Regions from separate parts of the Homo sapiens genome. Here all the other regions are linked to region 1. The links are contacts of gene promoters, found by promoter capture Hi-C in blood cells and fetal thymus (Javierre and others, 2016). All regions are on one chromosome and are shown on one strand. Each heading gives the region's core, a stretch centred on a gene start or on the middle of the fragment in contact. The rest is flanking DNA. Distances are from core to core; before and after follow the strand shown.

What was found. The method cuts DNA at HindIII sites, captures the fragments that hold promoters and counts their contacts. A CHiCAGO score of 5 or more calls a contact.
Region 2: a fragment that was not itself captured here is called in contact with the fragment with the promoter of PDE6D in region 1 in 1 of 17 cell types (non-activated CD4 T cells); the score reaches 5.1 in non-activated CD4 T cells.
Region 3: a contact is called between a fragment that was not itself captured here and the fragment with the promoter of PDE6D in region 1, in 1 of 17 cell types (neutrophils). The highest score is 5.4, in neutrophils.

The regions. Positions count from the first base shown.
Region 1 is chr2:231,779,879-231,782,608 of GRCh38, forward strand. It overlaps PDE6D (phosphodiesterase 6D), which reads right to left and starts at 1,404. Exons shown (of 5, transcript NM_002601.4): 1 at 1,187-1,404. The coding sequence starts at 1,236. It also overlaps a transcript of COPS7B not described here. RefSeq lists enhancers at 571-650, 1,201-1,430 and silencers at 594-817, 941-990. The HindIII fragment of the contact is 3,911 bases long and covers 264-2,730 here.
Region 2 is chr2:231,464,341-231,467,070 of GRCh38, forward strand. NCL (nucleolin) reads right to left here and starts at 144. Exons shown (of 14, transcript NM_005381.3): 1 at 1-144. The coding sequence starts at 13. RefSeq lists enhancers at 1-553, 1-88, 599-698 and a silencer at 119-468. The HindIII fragment of the contact is 4,015 bases long and covers 1-2,730 here.
Region 3 is chr2:231,510,467-231,513,196 of GRCh38, forward strand. All of the region lies in intron 2 of LINC00471 (long intergenic non-protein coding RNA 471), which reads right to left. Among named protein-coding and RNA genes, the nearest start is that of LINC00471, 2.5 kb to the right of the region's middle. The HindIII fragment of the contact is 1,232 bases long and covers 720-1,951 here.

The DNA.
Region 1 (2,730 bases), core at 154-2,653:
TTTGCAAGCGTGACATGGACATTGTGAAAACGCAACAGAATACCAAGAAAACAGTGCTTTACTAAACCTCCAAGGGAGGAGCCCTGAAGTGGTGACTACCTTTTCACTGAGGGAGCAATTTAAGAACGTTCGTACTATAGATTACAGATAGGATGCATGAAGAGATTAAAGTTGGCAGGAGAATGGAAAATTTGAATATCCAAGTTTGCATTTTTTCATCTGCATCATATGGTGACAGACTAACACACTCCACGAAAACACAAAGCTTCCTTACGGAGAGGATGCAAAAGGGGCACCACAACAGGCCCGAGGCAATGATTTCTCTACCCCACTCTATCCTACCGTGGCCCCAGCGACATCACACCATTGCTGGACAGCTCCACCACAGCTAGGCATAACCGCACCGACAGGAGCGAGCAAAGACACCTCGGCTAGGAGTCCCAGCGCGAGGCACCCCACACCTAAGCCTATGGTCCTCATCTTGCTGGAAAGAAAACTGAGGCGCTGAGGGGGAAGCAGTGACCAATGCCTGAGAAGGCCAAGAGTGTTAAGACGAGGTCGATCTTGGACTTCTCTTTCCCCACCTCCCCCAACTACTCCAGTCCTGGAAGAAGCCACAAGTTTGGAAGAGAAGTTGTGGAAACCAGACGGGGGTGGGGTGCGGTGCGGTGCGGTGGGGGACCTGAGAGAGTTTTAAAAGCACTGGTATTTGTCCCACACAAGGTCGCCCGCTCCAAGTCACTGTTCCCCGCTCCCCGGGTAGGCTTATAGCCAAAGAGGCTTCTAGGCTTCGAGATCAGCCCACCGCGCCCCCTCAGCCCTTCTCCGCGGGCCGCAGCCCCATCCCGGCCTCTGGGTCCCGGCCGGGGATCGGAACCCAGCCGGCTTCTCCGACAGCGTTTCCGACGCCCGGCACCTCTCGCAGCCCCGTCCCCCAGGCTCCCCCGTCTCCACCCGCCACCCCCCGGCGCTCCCGTCAACGTCCCCTTCCTCCCTCAGGACGCCCCTTGGGGCGCCTCTCGCGCCGGGTCCCGCCGGGTGCTCGGCACGCTGTTCCTTTCCTCTCCCCTCCCGCGGCCCTTCTTCTGTGGGGCCCACCTGGCGCGGCCCCCGCCCCCGGCCAGTCTCCTCAGTGAGCGGCCGCCTCCCAAGTCCTCCCGGCCCCGCCCCGCTCCCGGACGGATACAGTTTGAAGCCCCTCAGGATCTCCCTGGCCCGCTCGTCCTTGGCTGACATGATGCGGCGGTCGCCGCCCGCGGCTTTCTCACTCTGGTCGGCGGAGCCTCGCAGACGGTGCCCAGGAGCCGAGGATGGAGCCGCAGCCCGGCTTGGAGACCTCGGGCTAGCAGCCGCAGCGGCCAGACCAGGACCGGCCTCTCTCTCCCCTCAGCTCCCGCTTCTGATCCCTTCTCCTTCCCCCTAGCCTCGCAGTGCCCTCCTGGAACCAATGGAAAGCCAGCCTTGGCGATTGGCATCTCAACCAGCCAGTAGGAGCGCGCAGCGGCTTCGCAGGGGGACTGTTAACGTCAATGGGAAGGGCCCTCCCCGGGAAGTCCCATAGGACACAATATTCATCTGGTGTTGTTGCCTAGAGTTTGTCCCAGCGGAGGGTTGGCTTCGGATCTGCAGAGGCTTTAGGGACCTGCTCCAGCCACTGAGCACACTAGCCGTCTGAGACGGCAGCTGAGTTGCACTGTGCGACGCGACAGAGACTACATTTCCCAGCATTCCAGCGGCGCACTCGGGGGACCACAGATCCCAGCGCACCACAAAGAGGCCCGGGGACTACAAATCCCAGCATCCCCTGCACTCGGTTCCTCTGTAACTTAGACTCCAGTGTGCCGCGCAGTGTGCGCAAATTCACAAACCCGCCCGCTGAGTTGGTCGTTTCGGAATCCCGAGACTTGAAACCCAACGGGAAGACCCTTCTCACCCTCAAAAGAAGATGACAGCCCGCAGAGAGTTAACTTCTGTTTACATGGAACTCAGACATCTGCAAATCATGGTAAGGCTGCAAACAACAAACAAAAACACTGATTAAACCGTGAAAGAGAACAAAATGACTTCTTCAAATCGTGCTTGTTTGTTGGTCTGAGGCGCCTTTTACATGTATTTCAGGGTTTTTTGCTGTATTCCTGGTTTGCACCGGGAGAGCTATGGATTGTATACTCAGAATATCAAAACATAAAGGGACTTTGCTAATCTATCCCCTGTTGTTACGTATGAGGAAATTGAGGCCCAGAGAGGCGAAGGGATTGGCCACAGATCACAGCAAGTTCGGGCAGAGTTAGAATTCAGCCCTAAGTCGGCTGACTTGCAGTCTGGACTCTTTGCACCACACTAAGGAGGTGATATTTTTAGCAGCATGGCAATGTGAATTATTCTCCTTGAACGGTTTTCCTATCCACTGTTGAAACACCCAGAATTAGGTAGCATTTATTTGGTGGATTTCTTGCGAGTGAGGGAGTGTGATATTTATTTATTTTCAGCCTAGGTAGGATTTGGTGTTTTGTTTTTTGCCACTCAAGGTGACATTTAATGTGATTTCAGGAAGTAGGTAAAATTACAGTGTGAGCCACGGTTTCCTTGGAAACCTCCTCTGTCCTTCTCTTGGCCTTCCTTCCTCTGCCTGTCCCCACTTTCACCCATCTGGGAACTCACCCAATTTTTTCTTCCATGTAATTCAACAAATATCTTTTCAGCCTGTTATTTGTCAGGCACTGAGTGGGT
Region 2 (2,730 bases), core at 134-2,633, 320 kb before region 1:
CGAGCTTCACCATGATGGCGGCGGAGTGTGAAGCGGACAAGTGGCGCAGATGAGTCCAGAAGAAGCCAAGCGACGGCGATGGCGGCCGCGGGTGCTGAAGATCCCGGAGCACGTACACCCGAAGGCCAGCGAGAGCTCGAGACTGAGGCGAAAGACTGAGCCTGCCCAGTAATCGCCTGTGGAAAGGCGACGACGGCGCCCTCGTGACTCCGCGCCGACCAACCAAAGCTCGCGGCCGTCCCCATGAGCCAATCGCGAGCCTCTAACCGTGAACGGCGCGGGGCGGGGAGTAGGCGGGCCGAGGCGGCCACGGGAGGGGGAGGGGCTGGCAACGGCGCCGTGGGGGCGGGGCTCGCTTTGTGCAAGGTCCGCGCTGATTGGGCCGTGGGCGCGCGGGTCCCGGCCTGCGTCGTGGGACTGGCGTTTTTGGCGCCGGCTGTGAGGGGAGCGCGGGGGTGGTGGAATCGGGCGGTCTCCGGTTCGCCAATGTGGCTGGGTCCGTAGGCTTGGGCAGCCTTGGAGTTCCTCAGAGACCCCGCGCTCGGTCCCGGCACGCACTCACGCCGCGGCTCCTGGTGGCCCTGGAGCGAGGAGTCCGCCAGCACCGGAAGTTCAGGGACCGCGGAGTTCCCGTTGGCCCTTTTGGAGGCACAGCTTATCCCTGCTTGCCCGCGAGCATGGGGCCGGAGGCACCCCCCGGCTGCAGGCAGTCTCCTGAGAGCTGTTAATAAAGGCAGTCGCGGGTCTGTGCGAGGTTTTCTGTGAGAAATGCACGAACCTCCCCTACCCCACAGAACCTCAAGCGGGAGATATTTCTCGACATGGGGAACGGCCTCGGAGAAGTAACTTTCTGGCCTCACAGGGCAGGGAGAGGGGCCTGGGAGGGCCGACCGCAGAGCCGGGCCTTTGACCGCCCACAGGTTCCCTGGTTATTATTTGGGTCGAATGCGCCAATTAAGGTGGTGGCTGCGAAGTCAGTGTCACCAGATGGCCCGGGAGCAGGTCGAGAGCCACCGGCAGGGTTCCCCGGCGGCAGGGCGAAGGAGGCCGCCAGTGACTTCCACGGTTAGCTTTGTGGGTGGGTCTCACTCGATGCCGGGCTTAGCAAACCAGAGCATTTCCCTCCGTCCAGGGCCTGCCGGGGATCCATCCCATCCATAGGTCCAGCTATGGATCCATCCATACCTCATTGTTCCTACAGAACCAGGATATCTGCAGCTACGGCTGTACTTGTTAAAAATCACCTCAGGCCGGGCGCGGTGGCTCAGATCCGCAATCCCAGCATTTTGGGAGGCCGAGGCGCATGAACCGGGGAGGCGGAGGTTGCAGTGAGCCGAGATCGCCCACTGCACTCCAGCCTGGGCGACAGAGCGAGACTCCGTCTCAGAAAGAAAAGCATTTGTTAAGGCCGGGTGCGATGGCTCATGCCTGTAATCCCAGTACTTTGGGAGGCTGATGCAGGAGGATCGCTTGAGTCCAGGAACTTGAGACCGGCCTGGGTAATATAATGCGACCCTGTCTCCACACAAAAAATAATTAGCGGGCATGGTGGCGCTCGCCTGGAGTCCCAGCTACTCGGGAGGCTGAGGTGAGAGGATCGCTTGAGCCCAGGAGGCGGAGGTTGCAGTGAGCCGAGATCGCGTCATTGAACTCCAGCCTGAGGAACAAGAGCGAAACCCCATCTCAAAAAAAAAAAAAAGAAAGAAAATAAAATTATTTGTTAAATGAATGAAGTATTTAGGTAGAAGCAGCAGCAGGGAGAGCCGGCATGGCTCAAGTGGCGTTGCTTTGGAGTTGGTCTGGGGCAGCAAAATAGCAATATCTAACACTTCATAATGCTGATTCAGTGCCAGGCGCTCTTCCAGCTCTTTACATATTAATTAACTTACTCTTCAAAATAACCTTTCCAAAAAGTTACCACTGTTTTACAGAAACTGGGACATAGAGGTAAATTAACTTGTCCAGGGTCGCATAGCTAGCAGTGGAGGCGTAGGATATAAGTGAAGACACTGCTGTGTCATCCCAGTTTCTTTTTTTTGAGACAGAATCTCACTCTGTCACCCAGGCTGGAGTGCAGTGGCAGGATCATGGCTCACTGCAGCCTTGACATCCCCAGCTATATCAATCCTCCCTCCTCAGCCTCCCAAAGGTGAGCCACCACGTCTGGCCTGTTTGTTTCTAAATGCTTTTTTGTTTTCTTTTGAAAACATGAGTATTTATTGAATTGTAAAGTATACACATAGTGCAAAATTCAAAAGATTCAAACAGATGCACAATAAAAGGTCTCCCTCCCGTTCCTGTCCCCTAGGCCTCCCAGTCTCAAGGCAGTGGCAGTCTCTTGTATATCCTTCCAGATTCAGCCGTACGTGCAAATAGACAAGTATATTTGTTATATTTAATACAAACGCTATCATATACACTGTTCTGAGCTCTTCTTTTGTGTTAACTATATGTATCTTGTAACTCATCCTACATCAGCACATGTAGAGCTGCCTCATTCTTTTTAATAGCTACATGGCATTCCTTGTGTGGAAGGATCACAATTTATCTAGTCACCATTGCTGGATAGTTAGGGTTTTTTGCTATGTTTGGCCATTACAAACTGCTATAGCAAATATTCTCACTTACGTTATTTTACACAAATCATATCTGTAGAACAGCTGGGTCAAGGGTATGGACTTTCACATTTTCATAGATGTTCTCCCAAGTGCTGTCTTTGGTTGGGGTTTT
Region 3 (2,730 bases), core at 86-2,585, 270 kb before region 1:
AAGTATGCCAAAATCCAAAAAATCTGAAGTCTAAAACATTTCCAGTCCCAAGCATTTCGAATAAGGGATACTCAACCGATACAGTACATGCTCTCTTATCTATGTCAACGTAACCAACTGGCTGGATTAAATGACTGTCTCAATTCCAAACAGGTCTTACTATAATAACTTGATGCTTATGAAATCCCAAGCATGAGTGGGCCACTCTGTGGTACTCCTACTAATGTGATGTCTCTATGCCTGTGAGCTGAACTGTATCTTTAATAAAAACCCGCTGTGTTGTTTGCTAACCTGTATTTGCAGTTTCAACTGCAAAATTAACTAAACATCACATAAACCAATACCATCAACGCAAAAAGGGTGGGGTGCAGTGGCTCACACCTATAATCCCAACACTTTGGGAGGCCGAGGCGGGCAGATCACATGAGGTGAGGAGTTCGAGACCAGATTGACCAACATGATGAAACCCCATCTCTACTAAAAATAAAAAATTAGCCGGGCGTGGTGGCACATGCCTGTAATCCCAGCTACTTGGGAGGGTGAGGCAAAAGAATTACCTGAACTCAGGAGCTGGAAGTTGCAGTGAGCCAAGACTGAGCCATTGCACTCAAGCCTGGGCAACAAAAGTGAGACTCCATCTCAAAAAATAAAATAAAATAAGTGCAAAAAGTTATTGAGTCTATGAAAACAAACTTCAGTGCTTTGGAGGTACTTGATAAAGCTTAAAAAACTGCAATCAAGTTAAGGGTGCATGAGCAACCATAAAAGAATGGGAAAAGCTGTAAAACTGTGGGAATCTGTATTCAAACTGCTTTACTTACTAGGATGTTAGAGTTTTCCTTTGCTTTAAAGAAACAAACTTTAAATTGCAGAAGATGCATTATGTGTGTATTTTATGCAGGGAAGATAAGCTACTCCAGCAGTGGACTCAAAGATAAGGCCTTGGTCCTGTATCAAAATATTGCCAAAAGAATACATAATGTCTTAAATTAAAATCAAAAGGTATGGATGGATAATTTTCATGATTTCCCTACTTTTACTTTTTAAAAAATTGTATAAAGTGTATAACTGTTTTAATATACTTATGGCAAAATGGTTACTACAGTCAAGTAAATTAACAAGTCCATCATCCCTAATAAGTGTGTGTGACAAGGGCACCCAAAACCCACTTTTACATTTGATTAATTAAAACAATTAGACTGAAGAGGGTTGAAGAAAGTTTCTATCACACAACCAGCTGCTCAAAATGGACAACAAATAAATGCTATCTGCCTCTCAGAACAAGCTGCTTAGGAGAAGACTGAGAAATGAATGGGGAAGGTATAGGGGGTTTGGATTCAGCAGACCTATGTATAACCCTGGCTGTCACTTACTAGTTCTGGAAACATGAGCAAGCTGGTTAATGGCTAAATCTGCTTTCTTGTCTAATTTTAGTATATGTGCTGCCGAAGCGAGCACACTTTCTTGTCTAAAAAATGGAGCTATATGATGCCTACCTAACCCGGTCACAGTGAGGATGAAATGAACCAATGTATAAAGCAGTGGTCCCAAACCTTTTTGGCACCAGGGACCGGTTTTGTGGATGACAATTTTTCATGCATCCGGTGGGAGGGGAGAGGGATGATTCAAGTACATTACATTGATTGTGCACTTTATTTCTGTTATTACATTGTAATATATAATGAAATACAACTCAACATAATGTAGAATCAGTGGGTGCCCTGAGCTTGTTTTCCTGCAACTAGACAGTCCCATCTGGGGGTGATGGGAGACAGTGACAAATCATCAGGCATTAGATTCTCATAAGGAGCGTACAACCTAGATTCCTCACATGCGCAGTTCACAATAGGGTCTGTGTTCCTATGAGACGCTATTGCTGCAGCTGATCTGACAGGAGGCGGAGCTCAGGCAGTAATGCAAGCAATGGGGAGGCAGCTGTAAATTCAGATGAAGCTTCCCTCACTTGCCCACCACTCACCTCCTGCTGTGCGGCCTGGTTCATAACAGGCCATAGACCAGTCTGTGGCCCAGGGCTTGGGGACCCCTGGCATAAAGCCCTTGTACAATGGCTGCACATGTGAAACATTCCATATTCATTAGCTGTGTACCCACTAACCCACCTTAATTCTTTCAGGACTCAACTTAAACCTATCTATTTTCAAATTCCAAAGGAGAGACTCTCAGAAGAACATAGTGAGGACTATGTCAAAAGAAGAAATATGAAAACATGTTTGGCAGGTACACAAAGTAATAGACTTTTTTTTTCTTTTTTATTTTTTAATTTAAAACAGCCAGGCAGGGCTGAGGGAAAGCACCGCCCTCCTGGGCCATAAATGAATGGATTTTAATGAATCAATTTAAAGAATGAAGAGATTTAAACCAGTATTACCAGAAAACCAGTATCACTTTACAAACAAAGAACACCTTGGCATTCCCAAAATAACCCACACTTGGTCACGATACATTATGATGTATTACTCTTTGCATAACATTGATATTCAATTTGCTAATATTTCTGGAATTTTTGTATCTATGCTCATTAAAGAGAGAGTGGTCTGTGATTTCTCAAAATGACCTGGTCAGGTTTTGGTATCCAGTTTAGTGTGGACTTGTAATACTAGTTGAAAAGTGTTTGCAATAGCACTTTTGAGGTTTGTGTTTTTTGTTTTTGTTTTTGTTTTTTTGCTTTGAGACCGACTCTGTCTCCCAGGCTGCAGTGCAGTGGCACGC